Regions from separate parts of the Homo sapiens genome. Here all the other regions are linked to region 4. The links are contacts of gene promoters, found by promoter capture Hi-C in blood cells and fetal thymus (Javierre and others, 2016). All regions are on one chromosome and are shown on one strand. The core of a region is centred on a gene start or on the middle of the fragment in contact, and the rest is flanking DNA. Distances in the headings are between cores, read along the strand shown.

Region 1 (5,720 bases), core at 2,134-4,633, 320 kb before region 4:
CATTAAAGAATAATGTTTTAGATGTGGTAATCCCAGACTCACACAATTCTCTTTTATGAACCTAGCCACTGTATTCATATGGAAAGTAAATTACAGCTATATTACATCGAGCCTTTCATTATTGACAGAGCAATAAATGTTAGTACTCCTATAAAACACTGAGAGAAAGATTAATACACAGTGGTATATATATTTGGAGGAATCAGGGTGTCCAGTCAGAGTCAATATGTCTTCTCTCCCTGTACAGAAAAAAAGGGAGGGGTGTAAATAAAAAGGTGAGGGTTGACAGAAGGAGAGTAAACATTTTAACCATTAAAACTGATCTCAAATCGACGGTGGAAAGGTGTCATAAGATTTACCCCTACCAACCCGTTAATTGAGGAAAATTACAGAAAGATGTCCCGAAGCTATCATAGGACCTAAGCATTTCTCCAATACTGAGAAAACACTCGATATAGCCATTATTATTCTGTTTTAAATTTTTGGAGATCTCTGCCAGGGAAAATGTGGCACTTGCCCATTGAGAGCACTGCAAATCAACTCAAACAACTAGTTCTTGCAGGCTGATGTTCATCCGGCCTGGGCAGGTGCAAGTTCACCTCCGCTGGCAGTTGTGCGTAGCTCACTGTCCCCTCCATTGTCAGACAGTTCTGATGTTTTTCCTCTTCCATGCAGTCAAGACTTCAGTCTATTGCTGACCTTCATCAGAGAGGTTTGTCCTAAGCTCCTCCCCCAACCCACACCCCTGTTTATGTTCAAAGCTGGACTTCAGGAAACAGTTCTCTTAAGCACTGAAGAAAAACATATTTGGCATCCACTACACTCCCTAACTCCCACTCCAATGGACTCTGTTTCAAAAGCTCTGGACACATAGCATAGATTTCTCATGAGACCTGACCATCCTAACAAATATGGATTGCATTTGCATTTTACCACTAGAACAAACAAAAAGTATTTACATTTGGAAGAACTGTGGCTACACTTCCCCATCCTTCCCTCAGTCCCCATGTTGTTTGATTCTTGCCTGCAAAGAGTACCAGAGGCCACTGAACACATCTCACATTGTTTTTGGGTAGTGGCAAAGTAAAATGCCAGCACTGAAGATGGTGAGCTTGAGTTTCACAAGTCATCTGTGTAAGGGAGAGAAGTAACTACTCACTACACCTGCACAAAGAAAAGTGCCTGGATTAAGCAGACTGCACAATGTGAGTTTGTTAATTCATCCTCCCAACAGAAAGTTAAATGGCTGTAAGAAATTGTGCTTGCATTTCATTTGATCAGACCTCATTTCCTGGGACCTCAAACACCAAGTTCTCCCAAAATATGGCTAAAATGCTGGCAATATTTGCAGATACCAGTTGTGGAAATTAAACCCAAATAAAGTTATATACAAACTTAGTTTACAGAATAACTATCCCATTCCGTTTCTTTGAATAGAGCAAAACAGAAATAAATATCCTTCTTAAATGTATTACCTAATTATCATGGAAAGCCTAGGAGACATAGGAGAAAAGTAGATCTCTATAGATGTTGCTCAAATACTTGGCTTTCTAGATCAGAGTATCCTCAATGCTACTATGTCAATTTTCGAGTGGAAAATATGATAGGTGATACTTTTAAATGCAAAAATATATACTTCAAGCCCAATCTTCATATAATGACTCTAACTTCCAGCCAAGTTGATTTGTTAAGTTGTTGGGCTCCAAGGAGCTTTCTGGAGGAACCTGGGTGTTTCTGACCCTCTAATTCCTTTTCAAACGCAAGTTAAGTCCTTGCACTTGACTTAGAGAAATGCTTGCTCCTCGCATAGTGTGTGCACTCACTGGAGAATCCTCTCCCTGCCTTGGACTGGGAAGACTTGAAGTTAAACACGCAGCTCTGTGATTCTAAGGGTGGCTCAGGGCACCCCCAAATCAGTCACCTGAGTTACAAACATATTGACAGCTGAAGTGGGTCCTAAACTAGGGGTCACAAAGTCAACTTCTCCTCCCGTGCTATCCAAGGTGTCCTCCGGACCGTGATAGGCAGGAAGTGTGGATGCATTTCAGTGTCCTGGACAAGATTCTCTCGACCTTTCCTTTTCCCATAGGTTGTTCACATCAGGACCTGTTCTCGAGTCTCTGGCAGTCGAAGGGCAATCAGGCCACCCCCAACCAGAGAAGCAGCAGCCAGAAGGATGGGGACCACTTTGGTTATCCCAACAAAAGAAGCAAAGATGGTGTTTCCCAGGATGGCGCCAAATTTGCATAATCCATTGAGAATGCCGAAGGCTGTTGCTCTGTAAAAGAGGAATGGAAATAATTCTGACATTCTGAACCACATTAGATGAACAGGACTGGGCTCTTTCTTTTCCTTATTGCAGGGGGAAGAGGGTGCAAGGGAGTTTTTTTTCCTAAATATAAAAATAACACATTCTCATTGTAGTCAAATTTGGAAATACAGAATAATATAAAGATGCATGGATATCTAACCTCTTCACCGAGACACAATCACCTCTATTAACATTTTGAAGTATTTTCTTCAAGTGTTTTTCTTTTTTGTTTTTTTTTCAAAGATATCTATTTAAAACATTTTTATAGGTACTACATGCTTACTATGGAAATCTTGAAAGGATGAAGAAGTATACAAAGCAGAAAGTGTAAGTGTTCCCCCTTTTAACACTCTCAACCCTCCTGAAGCAGAGACTGCCAGTTGCCCACAAACAGCATTTCCCCAAATGTAGGACTACATTTCCCAGACTGATTTGCTGCTGAGCATGGCCATGTGACTTAGTTTTGGCCAATGGGATGTAAGTGCAAGTGGCAGCAGTTCCCAAGAAGCTTCCGTAAGAGACGTTGCGGGTGGGCCTTTTGCTCTGTTCCCCTTCATTCTTTTCCTTCTATCCTGCTTCATGATGGAACACAGATGGTTTCATTTTGGACCATGATGAGTCCATGCAAGGAAAAACAATGAGATAGAAAGAGCCTGCACCACCCACTCTAGACTTTTTCAGGAAAGAAAAATGCAATGCTTAACCTTCTTAAGACCACAGTTACCTGAGGTTGCTGTCAGCAACAGCAAAACCTAATCCTAATTATGATCTTTCAATCACACTTTCCAGTGAGAACTATTACTAATCATTTATTCTTTCATGACCCCATCTGTATGCAGAGGCAATATTCCCAATGCTACCTCTCCCCAACTGAAATAAAGCGTTTCTTTCTCATACCACAAGTTTATTAAGAGTGTGGGTATATTTTTGTTCTTAAAACTCTTCTTTCATTTTTGTCTATAACTGTACCACACTGTAGCTTTATATTCATCAACCCAGTCTTTTTTGTTTGTCTTAGTATCTTTGTTTTTGTATTTTCTTGGATCTTTTAACATATGTCCTTTTTTAAATAAACTTTTTTCAAGTTCCCAGAGGGGAAAAAAAACTTGTTGAATTTTGAATGAATTATTTTATGTTAGAAAAAAAACTAAATAAAAATTGACGTTTTTGTAAGATTGAATCTTCTTATCCAAAATTAGGTATATCTTGTCTTTTAAATATATATATTTATATATAATAATGTATACTAATTATATGTTATTAATTATATGTATTATCATAATTATATATAAATATATAATCCATAAATATATACATTTTCTGAGACAGGGTCTGTCTCTGTCACCCAGGTTGGTGTGCAGTGTTGTGATCCTAGCTCACTGTAACCCTGAAACCCCGGGGCTCTCGCAGCTCTCCCCCTCAGCCTCCTGAGCAGCTAGGACTACAGGCACATGCCACTATGCCTGGCTAATTGTCTAATATATTCTGTAGAGATAGGGGTCTCACTGTATTGCCCAGGCTGATCTTGAACTCCAGCCTTCAAGCAATCCTTTTGCCTCGGCCTCCCAAATCACTGAGTTGGCATATATTTATCTTCTCTTATGTGTCTTTTTTTATATCTCTTAGTAAAGCTTTATGGTTTTCTTCATTTGAGTGTTTCACTTGTCAAGTTGATCCCTAATTATTTTATGACGTCTGCCATTATTAAATGGATATCAATTGCATCTTTAACTTTTTCGATATATTTTAAAACCTATACATAATTTCGTTTTATTACTGACCACCTGACCACATTGTCTTTTTGTCTATAGTGGTCTCATAAGTTAATTCTCTTAGGATTCCTAGATGTAAAATCACATCATATTCAAATAATAATCATTTGTCCTCCTGTTATTTTGTGTAAAACTTAGCAGTTCTTTGATTCAAATGAGAGGGGCTCCAAATATGACACGTTGTGCTCTTCCTTAGTTATCTATATCCCAATACCTCTGTCGCCAATTTTGGAAATATCATTAAGGTTTTTGCAGAATTTCATTTACCCACCTTCCTTACCTCTTCACATTCCTTTTTGACCACAGGGCCTCTTATCTTCTCCTTTAAACTTTACAATTCCCCTCCACGAAGAAAAACAATTACTAAGTAATGGCCTTGATCCTATGCCTTTAAACAAGGCCTCTTCCCATATACGACCTGTGCAAAATAAAAGTAACCCCTGGGCCTCCCTGCCACATTCTCTGCAGATTCCCTGGACTTCATGCTGCCTCCCGACCTTTATTTCTCTCCTTGCCCCCACCCTGTGCTATTCCAGCTCTTCACTTTTTTGCCTTATCTCCCCTTGAAGGTCTGTTCTCTCTTGTGGATTACATGACACATATGGTTTTACCAACTTTTCACTCTTATTTCCTTCTCCTGGACATAGTTTGCTCCCATCCTTTGCTTCTTGCCATCTTTCCCACCCTATCCAAGCCCTAGCCTGCCAACTTTCAGGTCTATGCCATCCACCATGCAGGAGAAGCTCAACATAAAAGATGTTTGTTTCACGGAACAGCAGAAAGACCACGATGGCCATGCACAGCATGAGATTTAGGGAGCAGGTAGACTTCTGGCCAAAGAAGCCCAAACAAGTCCCTGAGGAAAGCCTGGGGAAGAACTGACCTCTGGTTGGTGGGATACAGCTCCACTGTGATCACATCCAGAGCATTCCAGGCTGCAATGCTTGTCCCACAGAACAGGCACTGCCAGCCGATCATTGCAGACTCACTGTTGCCAAAAAACAGGAAGAAGCAGCAGACTGCAGAGATTAGCATGGAGCCACCTGCAGAGGGAGTTCAAGGGCAAAAAGAAACATGAGGCCTGTGTCTTGCACATGGCTGTCACTCACAGTTCTTGCCCCATCTCCCACCCTCACTGGTACACCTGAAGCCAAGGCTGCCTGAAGTATTAGGTTCACCCTCCACACAGAGAGAGCACAGCTGGAATCCTCACAAGGCACCCCAGACATGGCATTAGAGCCCTCTGCGTGGGTCAGATCACCAGACTTAGGAAGGATTCTGAAGTCACCACTCTAAGGTGGTGCCCAGCTCAGAGTGACGGGACGGGGCAGATAGGGGCATTTGTTGAGAATCTATTATGTACCAGACATTGTTCTAGGTGCTTGAGCTACATCAGTATTGGCCAAAAAACAAAAACAAAAACCTCAGTCTTGATTTGAAACCAGGATGTCAAAGAGATCTGTGCTTCTTGTTCAATGTAGCAATATTCACAATAGTCAAAATATGGAGTCAACCTAAGTGGCCATCAACAGATGAGTGGATAAAGAAAATGTGGTTTACATACACAATGGGATACTACTCAGACATTAAAAAGAAAGGAATTCTGGCCTATAATCCCAGCACTTTGGGAGGCCAAG
Region 2 (6,423 bases), core at 1,574-4,073, 300 kb before region 4:
AGCTTTGAGGAACCGCCAGGAGTAAGACATTACTTCCTGGGTCACGACCTATCACAGACAGAAATCAGGCATCTCTCCCTGATGTGCAGAAAGGTTTAAATAAGATAATGCTCTCCTGCTCCTAACCCTCACAGAAGAAAGCCCTACCAAGCAGAAATGTCTTCCCAGGAAGAGAAGGTAAGTTTGTTAATTAATTACTTAGTTAATACATATTCTGGGTAGAAACTCTATCCTGTTTTTAGCTAACAATAAAGGAAGCCTGGCCTGACATTTTGGCTCAGGGTTTAAAACATGAACTTATTCTTTTGCCTTTCTTGCACTTTCCAAAAACTCACAGGTTTTGAAGCAAAAGCTTCATGGGTACTCAGAGCCCCCAGATCCCCAAAAAGGCACTAGAAGGATGCAGATGATGCTTTGGGAGCAGACCAAAACTAACCTTGGCACTTTTGTTTCTTCTTGGGGGCAAAGAGATTGGTTTTACTGCAGGATGAAACTGAGGTTTCAATAGAATTTCCTTTGTCAACAACTTCCGTGGGTGAAGCTCTGTTTACAAAAAATAATTTTCCACCATGCGTGATACTCAATAAAATAATTTCCATCGAAACCTTAAATCAGCCAAGTATGAATAAAGTCAAAGGAGGAATACTGGTAAGGATAGAAGAAATGCCCCCAAGGAAGCCAAAGAACACGCGTGTATTCATGGAGGCGCTCAGAAGAGGGTTGGGGTTTTCAAAGATGAGCTGTTTTCCAGCTCACGACCAGCAGATGGCAGCATAACTCAAGAAAAGAAGCCAGGCTCCTTTCATTCCTTAGATCGCTTTCAAAGGTTCCTAACCAGTCAAGGAGAAAAATACCCTTTTTATTCAAGCAAGTTGCTGGGGAGGGAGTGGGGGAATTATGGGCTTCAAATAATAGTGGGTATAGGTTTAGTGTCTGTTGGTTAAAAAACATGTACCATATGATGAAAGTTACAATGAACTCATTACAACTTTTGAAGAAATTTATATTTTCATAATCATACAAAAGCATCTATGTACATTTGAAGCATAGAAACATGGTAGAAAATGTGTGAAGACAATCCACTCCAAGACAATCCTTGGCACACCTATACATTCCCAGACCTTGGCAATAACACTGGCTGCTACAGTTACCATTATTAGCAATTTCATTGTCACTACTATCAATATTATTACTCATATCACAATGATATATCTGCTAAACACTGGGAACTTCAGAAATGAGGTCTCCTTAAAAGAATTCATCTCTGCAGGGAATGGTGTCACCCCGTGGGGCGGGGAGAGGCATCTAGTCATCCATAATGTTCCTCAGGGGGTCCTGAATCCACAAAATTCATTAACCATCATCCACAGGATTCACCGTCCACCCATCATCCACAGGATTCACCATCCACCCATCATCCACAGGATTCACCATCCACAACATCATCCACAGGACTTACCGTCTGCCCATCATCCACAGGACTCACCGTCCTCCGATCATCCACAGGACTCACCGTCCTCCCATCATCCACAGGACTCACCGTCCGCCCATCATCCACAGGACTCACCGTCCTCCCATCGTCCACAGGACTCACCGTCCTCCCATCGTCCACAGGACTCACCGTCCTCCCATCATCCACAAGATTCACCGTCCGCCCATCATCCACAGGATTCACCGTCCCCCCATCATCCACAGGATTCACCATCCCCCCATCATCCACAGGATTCACCATCCCCCCATCATCCACAGGATTCAACACTGCTTTCTTCAGCCCCTGTTTCCTCCTCACTCCCACCCAGCAGTTTGCTGAAAGCCCGGAGAAGCTGAGCAAAGTTAAAATGACAGAGTGGATCAAAAGTCTCCACTTTCTGCCTAGCTAAGTGTCAGAACTGCAAAACCTGCTTGTTACAAATCACAAGGACTCTGCGTTGTATTGACTTTAATGCAGAAAGTATCATGTAAAACAGCGCCTCTGTAGGAATGAAGAGTTTCCCAATGAGAAAATATTTGTAGTTGTCAAGAGTCCAAGATCTGGAGTCCAAATGCATGGGTTGGGAGATAGATATTTCTATGTATATTAGCTGTGTGATCTTGAGCAAGATACTTAACCTCTCTAAGCTTCTGTTTCCCCACTTGCAAAAGAGAAAGCATATTTCTTGTTCCCTGGAGTTTTGTGAGATATCTACGTAAGGCACTTAAGGTAGCACCTGGCACACAGCAATGCTCATTAACATTGCCTGCTACAGTGACTATCATTGGCATTATTATCACTGTCACTGCTACCATTAGTATTACTTGTATCAAAATAATGTATCACTAAACATTGGGAACTTCAGAAATGAGGTCTCCTTTAGGGAATTCATCTCTGCAAGGAATGGTGTCACCCCATGGGTGACATCTAGTCATCCATAATGTCCCTTAGTTTTCAATATTTCCAAAGTATCCTAATAAAGCAAGGGTGATATTTCTTCCTTGGCAATGTCAACACAAGACCTCCTGACATACTAAAGAGCTCAGACAATGAAACATCTTGGGGGAACTGCCTTCCACCACCACAAGCTGCCATCCCTAGAGTGGTCACTCTGGGCAGAGGATAATGACTCTGAACTGTCTCTGTAGGGGATGTATAGATGCATGGGTATATGAGTATGGAGATGTCTGCAACTGGGCTTCAGCATTTTAAAAATTCTGAAAATCTGAACCCATGTCAATGATACTTAGTCCAAAACCTTCCTTCCCAAAGGTCTGATATTGGTAGAAATAATATTCTCCTTTTTATTGCACACTTTCTCACCTTAAATAACAGGAAGCCTTAGCTAAAGTCTAGCCTGTAAGAACAATATAGAATAAACTGAAAGAGGTATCCTTCCTGGGCTTCACCCAGCCATTCCTTTCCTAAAGTGGCCAGGAGTCACTACAGGTAGGGACTTTACTGAGACACCAGACGCATATGTGGGTGCAGACAGAGGGAGATACAACATTCACCAGAGGTGAGAATTCGTGGTGTTAATTTTGTATTGAAGTGGTAAATATGGGGCAGTTAATGTGACTGACATTGAACTATCTGGGCCATGGTATTTCAGGTGCCACTGTATAGCCCATGGCCACCCATTTACTTACCATTCACAACCTGATGAGCTTGCTAAGTACAGTTCAGGAAGGGACACAGCAGAGGGGTAAATGCTCAGTTTAGTGAATAATGTGGGCTTGGGTAAGCGTGATTAAGGTCCTGCCCTGATCCATCTTGAGGGTTTCAGAGGACAGTTTCAAAGAGGCATTCCTAAAGCACAACAGGGCGGATGGCCCATCTCATTTGTCCCAGAACCAGGAGGAGGAGGAGTAAAATGGATTGAGGAAGCAGCCCCACAAAGCTGTGAACAGGACTTTTCTAATCCTCCACTGATTTTTTTTTTTTCCTCTAAAAAACACTCCTAGCTGACTGTGGACCATACTGATCAACGCTCCAAAGGAATATTAGGTGAAAGAATAACAACAGGGCTTTATTTGTCCTGGCATGGAAAAGCTTCTAGGGTCAAAGTAAAAGCTCAACACCCAGGCTTTGGACTAGTTCGGGAATCTCAGCAGTAAGAGCCCTAGGCCCTTTCTCTGGGCAGCCACTCTTAATGGGACATCACTTGGAAAAATGGCCCAACTGACCGTCCTCAGTCAAATGTCTCCATCCTCACATGAAATAGCTCTCACCAGGAGATTAGGGTGTCGGGGAGCCAGCACAACACAGACACAGCCACTAGGGGAGCTATGGCGTCACTGGCAGCCATGACAGGTTGTGATGATGACACCAGCCTTGGCGCTCATTCCCGGCCATATTTGATTCTTATCTTCCCTCCGGCTCCCTCCCAATAACAGTCCCCACGACTGTCACCCTGATGTGAGGGAAGCCCGTGATCACTCACTTACTTATCATTCACAAGTTTCCCATGTTGGTGGATCTGATTTTCCATCGTGAAGTTGATTGTGGCGCCGTACACATGCTCACCAAAAAACACCTTCATTTTAGACTTGTATTCTTCATCTTGAAAATAGCGGATCATATCAGGAAACCAAACTGTCAGTCCATAGTAACTGGAGTGGAGAAGGCAGAAGGTTGCAACAACAACAGGATTCATTCTTTCATGATCAGGGTCTACACTCTTGACTTGATGCAGATCAAACTCATTGAAAATACATTAATTTGGTTCATTATTAGAAAATCTGACAATATAAATCCTCATATTAATAAATACAAGGGGAAAACTATGACCACCTCCATAAATGCTGAAAAGGCATTTGATTTAAAAGAAATGTTTTCCTGATACAAACACCAATAGATTAGGGGTTGAGGGACACCTCCTTAACATGTAAAATATACATGTCTCAGCCAGAATCTTAGTGAATAGGGAAACACTAAAGACATCCCCACTGGCTGGATGTGGTGGCTCACACCTGTAATCCCAGCACTTTGGGAGGCCAAGGAAGGCAGATCACTTGAGGTCAGGAATTCAAGACCATCCTGGCCAAGATGGCAAAACCCCATCTCTACTAAAAATACAAAAATTATCCAGGTGTGGTGGCACACATCTGTAGTCCCAGCAACTGGGGAGGCTGAGGCAGGAGAATAGCTTGAACCCAGGAGGCACAGGCTGCAGTGAGCCAAGCCCATGCCACTGAACTCCAGCCTGGGTGCAGAGCAAGACTCTGTCTCAAAAAAAAAAAAAAAAGTTTCTTCTTTGTAGAAGCCACTAGAGTTGGTTTTCTGCTACTTGCCACCAAAGCATCCTACCTGATACAAATTCTAAGTCAGAACTCACTGTAATCCTCAATGTGTAAAGGAGGCCACTGAGGCACAGGGAATTACGAAATTTAAGTAAGACAGAACTTACCTGAATGCCATGGCAAACCAAACCACGGCCAGAATCAGTGTATTCATTCTGTAGGGCCCCATCACACAGTACAGGGCATTATCCCAGACCTACAACCCATACCAGAGAAGGATTGTTAAAGAAAGCAATGTGTGACTTTGTTTCTCCCACGAAGAGCTCATTACTCAGATATTCTAATAAGTTGCCTAGGAACCCATGGAGAGAACCGGTACCCCACTGTCTCCTAGAGGCAGCAAAACTGTCCAAATAACAAGGAAAGCCTCTTCTCTTCCTACTGGCTGGCCTCATACTCTAACAGTCCAATAGGATTTTCCCCGGGAGCACAGCATTCCATGAATGTGATTGAAAGCACACTGAGTTAGGACTTCAAGGCACTGAGTAACCTTGACTGCTGAGTTCTACTCCCTGCCTGTGGGCAAGGGGGATATTGCAAACATTTACTGACCATACACCATGAAGGCCAACCAGTCCCAATAGACGCTGGCTGTCTGGCTGCCTCAGTGCTCAATAGCTGACTGGCTCCCTACTTGGAGGAGCCAGTGCTCCAGAGAAATGGCATTGCCCTTTTAGAAAAATGTTTCTTGGAAATCAAGAACAAGCCTCAAGGGGTCATTTATTTTACTCACTTCTTCCTCCATGTGATTATTTTAAAATTTGCTAGAGAGAATAATGTTTACTCAGACTAGACATTTTATCTACATTCAAAATCCCTGCCTTGGGAAGGAAGAACAAAGAAAAGAAACTAAGATTTAGAGAGTTTTCAGCTCCAGGGCACACAGCAAGCTAGAGGCAGACGTGGGCTGGAGCCCAAACGCCCCCCTCCAGGGTTGCTTCCTCTCCATCACGCTGGCCCAGGTTGGTGGGGATGTTCAGGAGCTGCATTTTTCATCCACTAAGGTAAGAGACTCCCATAGAGACGCATCCTCATCCAAAGTAAGTTCCCAATCATACCTGCTTGAAAATGGTCTTGAATCTGACCAGCCAGCGCTGGTACCAGGTTCCTGTTGAACTTTGGATCTCAATGAATTCATCCATTTGCTTGGGAGTTTTGATGTTGGAAACCTGAAAAGTAAAAATAGGATATAGAGAATTTGAACCCCACTTTGTGTCAGAGTTTTCAATGTGTAGTTTAATGTAACTATTTAAACTGATTTAGGACTAGAGGAGTCTGCGATTTCTCAAAGAGCATACTCAAAAAAATTCAAAAACTGTTTCCATCACCTCCTCCAATAAACTTTTCATCTAGGGATAAAGACGAGCCATAGAGTGTCTCCATCTCTTTCTTCAGCCAAAGGACTGAGGATATGAGGAGACAGCAGAAGGGAAATACAGATGCGACTGGGCAATCCGCGGGGAGAAAGCAGTCCCTGGAAAGTGGACAACGGACTCATCATTTCCCGAGGGCTAGGTCTAAGACAGCTTGGCTATTGTTTTTTAAACCCTAAAAACAGTGGGGGGTTTTGTTTTTTTTATTTGTTTGTTTTTGTTTGGTTTTGTTTTTTGAGACACAGTCTCGCTCTGTTGCCAGGCTGGAGTGCAGTGG
Region 3 (6,395 bases), core at 676-3,175, 280 kb before region 4:
AATTTCTGTGTCATAGACACAAAATGGTGGAATGTGATATTTGTGGCAAATTGGAAGTGCTATACAAATATGACTTTTTACAAATTTTATCTTAAAAATGGCCTCACATATACACAGACTAACACAGATCAACCAAAACTGAGATGGCTGTAAGACCAGTCATTTAGGTACATAATCTGCAGACAAGGGAAATGTTGTAATTTTTTAAGCAAGGAAAGTCTTTGTGTTGCAAAAGCCCTCAACTGGTGGATTATGTTTAAGGAGAGAATTTCCAGGGTAAAGTGTGGCAAAGTGGATATTAGGAAGGAAGAACACGGTAGAAGTGAAAAACAGCAATTGCCAGCAAGGCTGGCTATGTTATTACCATCCAAGAAGGACCTTTCTTCAAGCTACAACCAATGTCTAGCCTTAAGGAAATGTAGTATATTTGTATATGGTGTGAGATAAGGGTCCAGTTTCATTCTTCTGCATGTAATATCCAGTTTTCTCAACGCAATTTATTGAAGAGACTGTTTTTCCCCCTATGGTGTGTTCTTGGCACTTTTGTTGGAAATCAATTGGCCATAAATGTGTGAATTTATTTCTAAGCTCTCTATTCTGTTCCATTGGTCTATATGTCTGTGTTTATGCCACTACCATTGTTTTAAATTACTACAGTTTTGTAGTATATTTGAAAGCAAGTAGTGTGGTGCTATCAGCTTTGTTCTTTTGGCTCGACTGCTTTGCCTATCCAAATCTTTTGTGGTTCTATATGAATTTTAGGATGTTTTTCCTATTTCTATGAAAAATGCCATTGGAAGTTTGATAGGGACGGCATTGAATCTGTAGGTTACTTTGGGCAGTATAGATACTTTAACAATATTAATTCTTTCTATTCATAAACATGGGATATCTTTCCATCTATTTGTGTCTTCTTCCATTTCTTCATCAATGTCTTATAGTTTTCAGTATAAAGACCTTTCATTTCTTTGATTAAATTCATTCCTAAGTATGTTTTAATGTTATTGTAAATGAGATTGTTTCCTAGATTTTGTTTTCAGATACTTCATTGTTAGCATATAGAAACATTACTATTTTTATGTTGGTTTCTTATTTTACACCTTTACTGAATTTGTTTATTTGTTCTAACAATTTTTTGGTGGAGTCTTTAGGGTTTTCTATGTATAAGATGCCATCTGCAGAAACCATTTTACTTCTTCATTTCTGATTTGGATGACTTTTATTTCTTTTTCTTGCCTAATTGCTCTATGTTGAATAGAAGTGGCAAGAGTGGGCATTCTTGTCTTGTTGCTGATATTAGGGGTAAACCTTTCAGCTTTTCATTATTGATTATGATTGTCAGTTGTGGGCTTGCCATATGTGGCCTTCTATACCTAATTTGTTGAGAATTTTTATCACGAAAGGATGCTGAATTTTGTCAAATGCTTTTTCTGCATCTATTAAGATGATCATATGATTTTTATCCATTATTATGTTAATGTGGTGTATCACATTTATTGATTTGCATATGTTTAAACATCCATTCATGCCAAGGACGAATCTCACTTGATCATGGTGTATGATCCTTTTAATGTGCTGTCGAATTTAATTTGCTAGTATTTTGTAGAAGATTATTGCATCTGTGTCCATCAGGAATATTGACCTGTAATTTTCTTTCCTTGTAGTGTTCTTCTCTGGCTTTGGTATCAGAGTAATGCTGGATTTGTAAAATGAGTTTGTAAATATTCCTTCACCTTCAATTTTCTGGAAGAGTTTGAGAAAGGTTGGCATTACTTATTCTTTAAATGTGTGGTAGAATTCAACAGTGAAGCCAGCAGGTCCTAGGCTTTTCTTCGTCGAGAGGTTTTTGGTTACTAATTCAATCTCTTTAGTCATTAATGGTTTGTTAAGATTTTCTATTTCTTCATAATTGAGTGTTGGCGGATTGCATGTTTCTAGGAATGTATGCATTTCTTCCAGATTACACAACTGGTTGTGTGCAATTTTTCATAATAATCTCCTGTGATCCTTCATATTTCTGTGGTATCAGTTGTAATGCCTTCTCTTTCATTTCATTTCTAATTTTATTTGAGCCTTCTTTTTTCCTTAGTCTAGCTAAAAGTCTGTCAGTTTTGTTTATCTTTTCAAAAAACCAACTCGATCCTTTAACTATTACACTTTGCTGCTCTTTACAGATAAGCATTTGTTAGATTCCTTCTCTTTACATTAGTTCATTCTTTCTTCATCTGCTCACCCCCAGTATTGCTTGTCAAGTGAGGAATGGTTCCATCCTTTCAAGGAGATAAACAATAAAATGTATGATTATCTATGAGTGAGAAAAAAGGTGCTCAATAAAGGTATCTGTCAGGTATTATTAAAACCCAGAAGAAGAGCAAACCTTGGATATAATTCACTCAATGTGGGAAGGCTTCCAAGAGAAAGACATTGAGCTGTTCTTGAAAGACAAACAGAATTTAGTCTGATTTCCATTTGGTGACTGAGGCAAAAAGAAAGTCTGATATGTTCGGGCAACTTCTTGTAAGTAGCCTAGCGTGAGTAGAGCATAGTTCATGTAGGGGAATCTGGTGAGGGTTCAGGCTAGAAGGTAGGACAGAAGCCAGATCATAAACATGTGTGTGTGTGTGTGTGTGTGTGTGTGTGTGTGTGTGTGAAAACGTAGATGTATGGATGCATGCACGTGTGATTGTGTGTGTGCACATGGGTGTTTGCATGTATGTGTATGGGCCCATAAACTGAAAGCAGGGAGAGGGAAAAGAGACTTAGAGGAGTGCTCCAGAGATTTGCTGAGAACTAGTCTCCACACCCCACACCCTGAGTCCACCCTAGAGAAAAACACTAGCATCCAATAAAAGTCTATTTTTTCTTTTACTTCAATAAAGCTGTCTTCAGCACTTCTCAAACTTTACTGTGCACATAAATCACCTGGGGATCTTGTTAAAATCATATACTGATCCAGCAGGCCTGAGATGGGCCCTGAGATTCTGCATCTCTAACAAGCTGCCAGCTGAGGCCAGTGCTGCTGGTCTGGGGACCACACTTTGAGTAGCAAGAGGCTAGAGCACATCTGTCCTCCTGTAAACAGTAAATAATGATGAGAATCCAGGCCTTGGAACCCAAAGATCTCATTCACTAGTTGTATGATTTGGGAGCAAAACCTCTCACTTTCTGAGGGTATTAATCACCTCATTTATAAACCGATTACTGAACTAGAGATGATCTCCAAGTTGCCTTCCCATTCATTAATTTTAAATTAATTTTTTAAAAATGTAAATAATGAAAGATGAAGTACTGTGGATTTCCAAGGAAGAAGATATGCAGATTAAAAACATAAACTCAGACACAAATGTTTGATTAAACTACTTAAGGCCATACAAGGCATTTTTTTGTTTGTTTGTTTTTTGTTTTTTAGATGCTCTGTCACCCAGGCTGGAGTGTAGTGGCACGATCTCGGCTCACTGCAAGCTCCGCCTCCCGGGTTCACGCCATCCTCCTGCCTCAGCCTCCCTAGTAGCTGGGACTACAGGCGCCCACCACCACGCCCGGCTAATTTTTTGTATTTTTAGTAGAGACGGGGTTTCACCGTGTTAGCCAGGATGGTCTTGATCTCCTGACCTCGTGATCCGCCCACCTCGGCCTCCCAAAGTGCTGGGATTACAGGCGTGACAAGGATCTTTATGACATTGTACACATGGATCAAAATATCACAGGTGCTCCAAAATATGTACGACTATGATAAATGACTTTAAAAAGAATCGAATAATAATAATAAAGATATCCTTAACAAAAAAGTGGCTTCTAACCTACCAGTTTGCAATCTTAGCAATGAACACTGTGCAGTTATGAAATTATTGTCCCTCAGCTCCAAAGCCACCCTCCTAGACCTTACTTGGTCCACAAATCCCGGTCAGTTTTGCCAGCCACTCTCTGCTAGGCTCTGCCAATAGAGGGCGCTAGAGGGAGGCTTCAGGGCTGGGGAAAGAAGAAAGCACCTGTCCTTTCTGTTCCCTGTAGGTTTCAGCCTGACTGCAGCAATTCCTTTCTAGATAGCAGCTGCATCCAATTAGCAGAGGCCACATTGCACTTCATTCTCCTCTCCAACACCAGCAACTGCCAGCCAGGGCCTCTCTTAAGAGAGCTGAGTTGCAGCTTTATGGAACCCCTTTTCAAGATTCTAAGTTATAATCATTCCAATCTCTTTCCTTTATTCTCCAAGCCCTAGGGGAGGTAGCTTCTCCCTGCATTTGCTACCTCAGTGAAACTTTTCAAAAGCGTTTCACCCATCCTGTTAATAATTTTTACATTAAAATCTCTCTTTTCAAGTAACTGGTATGATTTGTCTCCTGACTATCCCATGACTGATCTAGACACCTAGACAAATTGAAAAACTTTACAAGTTAGATGTTGAATCCAACCCCTTAGTTTTACCAGACGAGGAGGCTGAGCCCCAGAAAGGGTCAATAACTTGCCCAGAACCTCAATGCTGGCCGAGGACCTGCTGGCACTGCATTTCTGGTCTCCTGGCTCCAGGCCTTGTGCTTTCACTACTAAACCTCACTGTCCAAGGTCATGGAGGTACCAGAGAGAATAAGAAGAGCTTCTCAAATGCTGTCTTTGAAGTCTAGGAAAAGGAAGAATGAAGGAAAAATGAGCCTATCACCAGGGAAGGGAAATACAAAATTAACAATGTCTCTGGAATGGCTATGTTATTAGACTCATTTAAAATCTGTCTTTAGCAAAAGAAATTTAAAAAATACATTTGGAAAATTAGAGTGCAGTGGAGTTATCAAAAATTACCTTAGTGTGAAGCAGATAAGGAACTAGTTAGAAAGCCAGAAATTCAATCTTCCCTCAATTTCACTCAACAAGCTCGGTGGCATATTAGGGAAATGATCCCTTAATATACTGAGATTTTTGAGGAAATTGAAAACCAGGATTGCTACTTGCAGAGCAAAGGAGGAAGAGGAGAAGAAGGAGGAGGAGGAGGAGGAGGAGGAGGAGGAGGAGGTTGAAAGGAGGAGCGATGTGGTGGAGTGGAAAAGACTTTTAATTGGTGGTAACACAACAAAGGAAATAGAATACCCCTCCTTGGAAGAGGGAGGAGCCTGCAGTGACAGGCACCATGCAAGAAAGAGCCCAGTTCTGAGACTGAGACATCTGGGCCATGGTCCTGGCTCCATGACTACCACAGCATGCCTGTGGGCAGCCCATTCAGCCTCTCTGACCACTATTACATCTTTGTAAAATTCGGTGCCCATCTTTGCAGAGTTGTTAGGATTATATAGGGGAGTGGATTTAAAGTATCTAGCAAAATGCCTGGCACCAAAGTAAATGCACATTTAATAAAAGCTGCTATTGATGTTATTAGCAGTACAGCTTAAAATTGTCTAGGACCTTGGAAAGCCACAGGATTAGAAAAATAAAAATAAGATGGTGATATTTTAAAAACAAGCCAATCATATACTAAAGGAATATGAGGAAAAAGGATAGAGAATAGCATAGGAAACTTATTTTTAGTAGTATGCCCTTTAAATAGACCTCCCTCTCTCCTTACCTGGAGAAGAAGCCAGCTTCCAATAAAAAGCTTTTTTTGAAAAATATTTTCGAAGTTTCCTCTAACAAGACTTTGAAGGGGGGATTTTTTTTTTTTTTTTTTGCTAACTCATATTTCTTCAGTTCCCACATTAAATGTCATCTCCTTAGAAAGGCATCCCTGATGTTCCAAACTAAGGCTCCACCAACTTTTTCTATAAAGGGACAGAGCATAGATATTTTACTTGTAAAATGTACTTTGCCAATCTTCTATGGTCTCTGTCACATCATATTATTATTCCTAAATTTACAACCCTTTAAAAATGTTAAAAAAAAAATTGGTCATAGGTTTGTAGACCACAGTTTGTTGGTTCCTGTTCCAAATTTCAGTCGTCCCTGATAGTCTTTTGGCAGCATACTATTGCTTTTCCTTTGTATCACATGTCTCTATTTGATGTTATATATTTATTTGTTTGATATTTGCCAAACTCCTGTGACTGTAAACTCCTGGACGAAGGGACCATGTTGATTTTGCTTGAGGAGAGTTCGACACTGTGTCTCTAGCACAGAGATGTACACATAGTAGGTACTCCATTAATATTTGTTCAATAAATAAAACAATCTAAAAGTAATTCCTATTCACTGTAAGAAAATCTGAGGAATACCCCCCAAAATGTATAAAAGGTAAAGCAATAATCTATTCATCATACCACCACTCAGAGACAGCTGTTGTCAGCAGGCTTTATTTTTGTATTTGTATTGGTACGTGTATAACTACATACTGTATTTACACGATAGAAATCTTTCTGTCTCGAAAGCTTCATAGTCTAGCTTTTCACTTAATAAACAACTCAGCAAAGAATATT
Region 4 (6,133 bases), core at 1,532-4,031:
TGGTAATTGTCTTAATTCTTTGTTCTTAGAAGGATCCGTCCCTCTCTGACAGTTCCACTGTTGGGCTTCAGGTCTGTATGGCAATCCCTGCATGTCCCTTTTCCAAACTGATCTGTCATCTGCTGGCTTCATTCATCTGGGCACAGGGCTACACTAACTAATAATCTCAGCAGTGTTACAAAGGAAGCAGGAATTCCTATCATGGACTCAAAAAAACACATCTGATTTACATTCACAACAGATTAATTAATAAAATTTGTTCAGACTTGAATTGGATTCTCAGCCCCTAAAGTCAGGCACAGTTTTAAATCACGTTTAACAGAAAACCTTGACCCTCCCCAATTGTGACATCAAAGGCCTGCAATAGCTGGAAAGAATAGAGGCCCCCAATCACATGGGGAAGGGAGCCCCAGCTGTGTGCTGCCTACAATGAGGCTCTTGGCCTGTGTGCTGATTATTTCCTGGAGTATATGCCTTCCTAACCCCTCAGGGCTTAACCGCCAGCTCTATTCTCAGCTAGCTAATGCTGATTTCCTCACCTTTGCCTCTTTCCATACATTGAGCTACTGAAGCATAGATGAAGCACTGGAAGCAAGTTTTTCCAGAATGCTCTTCACTTCCTAGTATCCTACTCTATATTTGCTAACACCTAACTACACTGCCTTTTACTTAATCTGTGATTTCTTCTCTCAATATTTTACTAGCAAGAGGAGAGGATGTTCCTCACCCTTGAGGGGATATTGAGTTAAACCCCTAGCCTGCCTCCCCTCTTAATTGCTGCAGGGATAGAGAATGGAACAGTTGGCCAAGGCTGCAGCTAGTTTTGATCACTGAAACTGGCTTCCTACTCCAGCATGTTTTTCAAATTACGTGGCTGGTGGTGCTTCTACCTTTAAAAGTGGGTGTGTGTCACTCTGGCTGATTGCTGGACAGAGGTCCAGCTTTCTCTTTTTCGCTTGTTCAACCAAGGCCCATTTTATCTGAGGCTTAAATGTACCTGCCTATCTGTGTGGCTAGTCCTAGGTAGGTTCGTCTGGTTTGGGTTGCTATGGCTGATAGACTCCACCAGGCAGCACCAAAGCCGGTAAACTAACCTCTGCTAATATCTGTCTTTCTCAATAGCCATTCATGCTTTATCTTTTGCTGCTCTACCATGTGCTCCAGCATGAGATCAAATCACCAGCAGGTTACAAGGCCTCAGCCCCAGGGATTGGTAGATATATGTTCTGGCCCATTGTTTTATAAAGGGCTCAAGAGACCAAAGCTTGTTGCCTACTTACCTTGACAACTCTAAAGTAGCTCTGTGAAGTAGAGTCATGCCTCGCTTAATGACAGGGATATGTTCTGAGAATGTGGGGCAATTTCATTGTGCACATATCAGAGTGTACTTAACAGTCCTAGACAGAACAGCCTACACACCTAAACTATATGGTATGGCGTTTTCCTCCTAGGCTACAAACCTGGGCAGCATGTTACAGAAAGAATACTGTAGGCAATTGTGGGTTTTTTTGATTCAGGCTATTCCTGGGATACTGTAGGCAATTGTAACGCAATGGTAAGTATTTGTGTATCTAAACATAGAAAAGGTACAGTAAAAATATGGTATAATCTTATGGGACCACCATAGTGTATGTGGCCTGTCGTTAACTGAAACATCATTATGCAGTGCATGACTGTATGAAGGATTTCTCTTCTGTGAGGTGTAACAGAATGGACTGGCTGAGGAAAAAGGGGTCACGGGCATGCGTGCACATGCACTCTGTCTGTGACTAATAGAATGGTGCTCAGAGTTCCTCACCTTTTACTCCTAACGCAGCCTATTGCAGGCTAGGGATCTCAGAGAAACTACCTTCAAGGGACCTTTTGCTGACACTTAACCAAACTTAGAAGGGTGGGCCATGTGTAAGAGAGGCAGTATGGCCACTGATGTTATTTATTTTTCAACAGCGAGAACTTTCAAAGGCTTCCAAATCTGATGCTACTTCTGGAATCCTCAATTCAACCAACATCCAGTCCTGAGAAGCCCTGATCAGTCAACCAGCTGTGGCTTCCTGTGCCTAGACTGGACCTAATTATATGGGGGTGACTTTAGTTTTTCTTCAGCTTAGGCGTGCTTGAAACCTTGGCCAGGTTCCATGACCATGGGCCTAACTTAAAGATGTGAATGAGTGTTACAGTTGAAAGCCCATCATAGGTTTAGTGGTCCTAGGAGACTTGGTTTTGACTTATATACATGAAAAGTTTATGGCAAGAAGTGCAAATTTTAGCATATGGGGCCTGACTTCTCTACCACATAATTCTACTTGCTGAAGCATGATCAAAGCTTGTTTTATTTCACCACTGTAGGAAAATGATTGACTATGCCCATCCCTGGGGGTAATTTTGGCATGTATACCTGTAACTAGTAATTAACATCTTTTTTGTTTAGGCATGTTCAATTAATGCTGTAGCTATCATAGCTTTGCTCTTACCTGAAGCCTTGTCCCCACCACACAGGACAGCCTTCCTCCTGAAGAGAATGTCTTTGTGTGTCCGAAGTTGAGATGGCCTGCCCTACTGCCAAAGAGGTGACAGGAAGGCTGGGAGCAGCTTTGTTAAATTGTGTTCAGTTCTGTTACACAGTGCATTGCCCTTTGTTGGGGGTATGCATGTATGAACACACATGCTTGTCGGAACGCTTTCTCGGCGTTTGTCCCTTGGCTCTCATCTCCCCCATTCCTGTGCCTACTTTGCCTGAGTTCTTCTACCCCCGCAGTTGCCAGCCACATTGGGAGTCTGTTTGTTCCAATGGGTTGAGCTGTCTTTGTCGTGGAGATCTGGAACTTTGCACATGTCACTACTGGGGAGGTGTTCCTGCTCTAGCTTCCACGATGAGGCGCCCTCTTTACCTATCCTCTCAATCACTACTCTTCTTGAAGCACTATTATTTATTCTTCCGCTGTCTGCCTGCAGCAGTACTACTGTCAACATAGTGTAAATGGTTCTCAAAAGCTTACCAGTGTGGACTTGGTGTTAGCCACGCTGTTTACTCATACAGTACGTGTCCTGTTTTTAAAATATACAATTATTCTTAAAAATAAATTAAAATCTGTATACTTACATTTCAAAAAGATATAGTGTGGTGTTTCCTTTTTTTCCCCAGTCACTTTTTAGTTGGTTGGTCTGTGTGTGAAAAACAAACACAAAAAACTAAAAGGACCTCCTGGAAATTTTTAGTCAGGAGTGTGATTTTTTTTTTTGAGTCTCACTCTGTCGCCCAGGCTGGAGTACAGTGGCACTATCTTGGTTCAGTGCAACTTCCACCTCCCAGGTTCAAGCGATTCTCCTGCCTCAGCCTCCCGATTTGCTGGGATTACAGGCACGCACCATCACACCTGGCTAATTTTTGTATTTTTAGTAGAGACAGGCTTTCACCATGTTGGCCAGGCTGGTCTTGAACTCCTGACCTCAGATGATCTGCCTGCCTCCCAAAGTGCTGGGATGACAGGCATGAGCCACAGCACCCGGCCGAGTGTGATTTTTAAAATATTCTCTGGTACATTTCTAAATTAAGAATATCTCTTACTCTAATTTTTTGGTGAGAAATATAAAACCTAACCCCTGATGTGTAGAGAGCAAAGGGAGTCCTAGGATGCTTCTGGCTTCAATGCCGTTTGTCTCAATATGGGGAGGCTGCCCAACTTCAACAGCGTTACTGAAGGAGGATGGACATAAACTGCACACATGTGAAGCGTAAGAGAAAAACCATCGCCACAGTCCAGTTAACCAAGTCTCTCTACCCCAGCAGTTCTTCCCACCCCTTTCTCACTCCTCCTTCCCAGCCTCACCCTGCCGAGCAACCACTGATTTTTTTTTTTTTTTTTTTTTTTTTTTTTGAGATGGAGTCTCGCTCTTGCCAGGCTGGAGTGCAGTGGCACAATCTCAGCTCACTGCAATCTCTGCCTCCCAGGTTCAAGGGATTCTCCTGCCTCAGCCTCCCGCGTAGCTGGGACTGCAGGCACGTGCCATCACGCCTGGTAAATTTTTGTATTTTTGGTACAGACAGACAGGGTTTCACTGTATTAGCTAGGATGGTCTCGATCTCCTGACCTCATGATCCGCCCACCTCGGCCTCCCAAAGTGCTAGGACTACAGGCATGAGCCACTGTACCTGGCCCACCGATTTGTTACTACAGATTAGTTTGCGTTTTCTACAGTTCGATGTAAGTAGAATCATACAGTATATATTTTTTTGGTCTGGTTCTTTCACTACTTTCAGATTTACCCATATTGTTGCTTATATCCATAATTCTTTTTTTTTTTTTTTTTTTTTTTTTTTTTTTTTTTTGCTTAGTATTCCATGGTGTTGATATACCAGTTTATTCGCCTGTTAGGTTTATTTTTCACATTTGGCTTTTCTCCAGTTTTTGGCTATTAAAAACAAGGCTGTTATAAACATTCATGTACAAGTCTTTGTATGGATATATTTTTTTTTCTGGATAAATACCTAGGAGTGAAATGGCTGGATCACATCTATGGTATGTGTACACTTAACTTTTTAAGAAATGCCAAACTGGGCCGGGCATGGTGGCTCACGCCTGTAATCCCAGCACTTTGGGAGGCTAAGGTGGGCAGATCACGAGGTCAGGAGTTCGAGACCAGCCTGGCCAACATGGTGAAACCCCATCTCTACTAAAAATACAAAAATTAGCTGGCTGTGGTGGCACACACCTGTAATCTCAGCTATTCAGGAGGCTGAGGAAGGAGAATTCCTTGAACTCAGGAGGCGGAAGTGGCAGTGAGCTGAGATTGCACCACTGCACTCTAGCCTGGGCAACAGAGCAAGACTCCATCTTAAAAAAGAAGAAATGCCAAACTGTTTTCCAAAGCAGTTGTACCATTTTACATTCCTACCAGTAATGTATGAAGGTTCCAGTTTCTCCACATCTTCACCAACAGTTGGTATGTTCAGCCTTTATGTAATTCTAGTTATTCTGTGTATGGAGTGGTGTCTCACTATGGTTTTCATTTACAACTCCCTAATGACTAATGATGTAGAGCATCTTCTCATATGCTCACTTGCTATCCTTCTGTCGTCTTTGTTGACTTTTGTCCATTTTAAAAAATGGCTTGGCCAGGCATGATGGCTCATGCCTATAATCCTAGTACTTTGGGAGGCTAAGGCAAGTGGATCGCTTCAGCCCAGCAGTTTGAGACCAGCCTGGGCAATATGCAACAACCCCATCTCTACTAAAAATACAAAAAACTAGCCAGATGTGGTGGCACGTGCCTGTAGCCCCAGCTACCCGGGAGGATGGCTTAAGCCCAGAAGGTGGAGGCTGTACTCCAGCCTGGACAACAGAGAGACCCTGTCCAAAAAAAAAAAAAAAAACCCACAATGAAATACCACTTCACACCCATTAGGATGGCTGTTAACCAGAAATAGAAAACAAGTGTGGACGCGGATGTGGAGAAATTAGGATTTGTGTGCACTTCCAGTGGGGATGTAAAATGATGCAGCCTCTGTGGGAAACAGGGCAGTTCCTCAAAAAAATTTAGAATTACCACACAATCCAGCAATTCCACTCTGGGTATATATCCAAAAGAACTGAAAGCAGAGACTCAAGAGAGTTGTACACCCATGTTCCCAGCAACATTATTGACTGTAGTGAACAACTCAGATATCCACCAATGCACGGATGAATAAAACGCAGTGTATACATACAACAGAATCTTAGCCTTTAAAAGGCAGGAAGTCTAGATACATAAGCTACATCATGGATGAACTTGGAGGACATGCTGCTAAGTGAGATAAGCCAGTCATAAAAAGACAAATACTATGGGATTTCACTTACATGAGGCACTTACAGTATCATAGGAACAGAAGGTTAGGACTGTGGTTGCCTGGGGCTGGGGAAGGGGAGACTGACGAGTTAAGTGTTTAATGCACAGAGTTTCAGCATAGAATGATGAAAAAGTTCTGGAAATGCATAGGGGTGACGGTTGCACAACAGTGAATGCATATAATGTCACTGAACTATGTACTTAAAATGGTTAAAAACAATTTTTGTTTTTTATTGAACATAAATTTTATGTTCAGTATATTTTACCACAATAAAAAAGACCCCATGGGTGGGAAACATTTGCTAAACCA

Evidence for each region. Contacts are between HindIII fragments. The CHiCAGO score rates a contact against its expected background, and 5 or more counts as called.
Region 1: a contact is called between a fragment that was not itself captured here and the fragment with the promoter of PRC1-AS1 in region 4, in 1 of 17 cell types (M1 macrophages). The highest score is 5.7, in M1 macrophages.
Region 2: a fragment that was not itself captured here is called in contact with the fragment with the promoter of PRC1-AS1 in region 4 in 6 of 17 cell types (endothelial precursors, M0 macrophages, M1 macrophages and 3 more); the score reaches 16.4 in endothelial precursors.
Region 3: a contact is called between a fragment that was not itself captured here and the fragment with the promoter of PRC1-AS1 in region 4, in 1 of 17 cell types (megakaryocytes). The highest score is 5.2, in megakaryocytes.

The regions. Positions count from the first base shown.
Region 1 is chr15:91,288,927-91,294,646 of GRCh38, reverse strand. It overlaps SV2B (synaptic vesicle glycoprotein 2B), which reads right to left. Exons shown (of 13, transcript NM_001323032.3): 12 at 4,967-5,126; 13 at 1-2,278. The coding sequence ends at 2,095. Among named protein-coding and RNA genes, the nearest start is that of CRAT37, 170 kb to the left of the region's middle. RefSeq lists an enhancer at 2,634-2,928. The HindIII fragment of the contact is 1,123 bases long and covers 2,822-3,944 here.
Region 2 is chr15:91,266,101-91,272,523 of GRCh38, reverse strand. SV2B (synaptic vesicle glycoprotein 2B) reads right to left here. Exons shown (of 13, transcript NM_001323032.3): 7 at 5,832-5,942; 8 at 4,881-4,969; 9 at 3,919-4,083. Among named protein-coding and RNA genes, the nearest start is that of SV2B, 170 kb to the right of the region's middle. The HindIII fragment of the contact is 1,405 bases long and covers 2,121-3,525 here.
Region 3 is chr15:91,245,324-91,251,718 of GRCh38, reverse strand. The region is part of intron 2 of SV2B (synaptic vesicle glycoprotein 2B); the gene reads right to left. It overlaps LOC105370972 (a long non-coding RNA gene), which reads left to right and starts at 5,642. Exons shown (of 3, transcript XR_007064760.1): 1 at 5,642-6,395. The HindIII fragment of the contact is 7,316 bases long and covers 1-5,583 here.
Region 4 is chr15:90,963,017-90,969,149 of GRCh38, reverse strand. PRC1-AS1 (PRC1 antisense RNA 1) reads right to left here and starts at 2,781. Exons shown (of 4, transcript NR_051984.1): 1 at 2,472-2,781. It overlaps PRC1 (protein regulator of cytokinesis 1), which reads left to right. Exons shown (of 15, transcript NM_003981.4): 14 at 30-71; 15 at 1,948-3,110. The coding sequence ends at 2,019. RCCD1 (RCC1 domain containing 1) reads right to left here. Exons shown (of 8, transcript NM_001017919.2): 8 at 6,025-6,133. The HindIII fragment of the contact is 668 bases long and covers 2,326-2,993 here.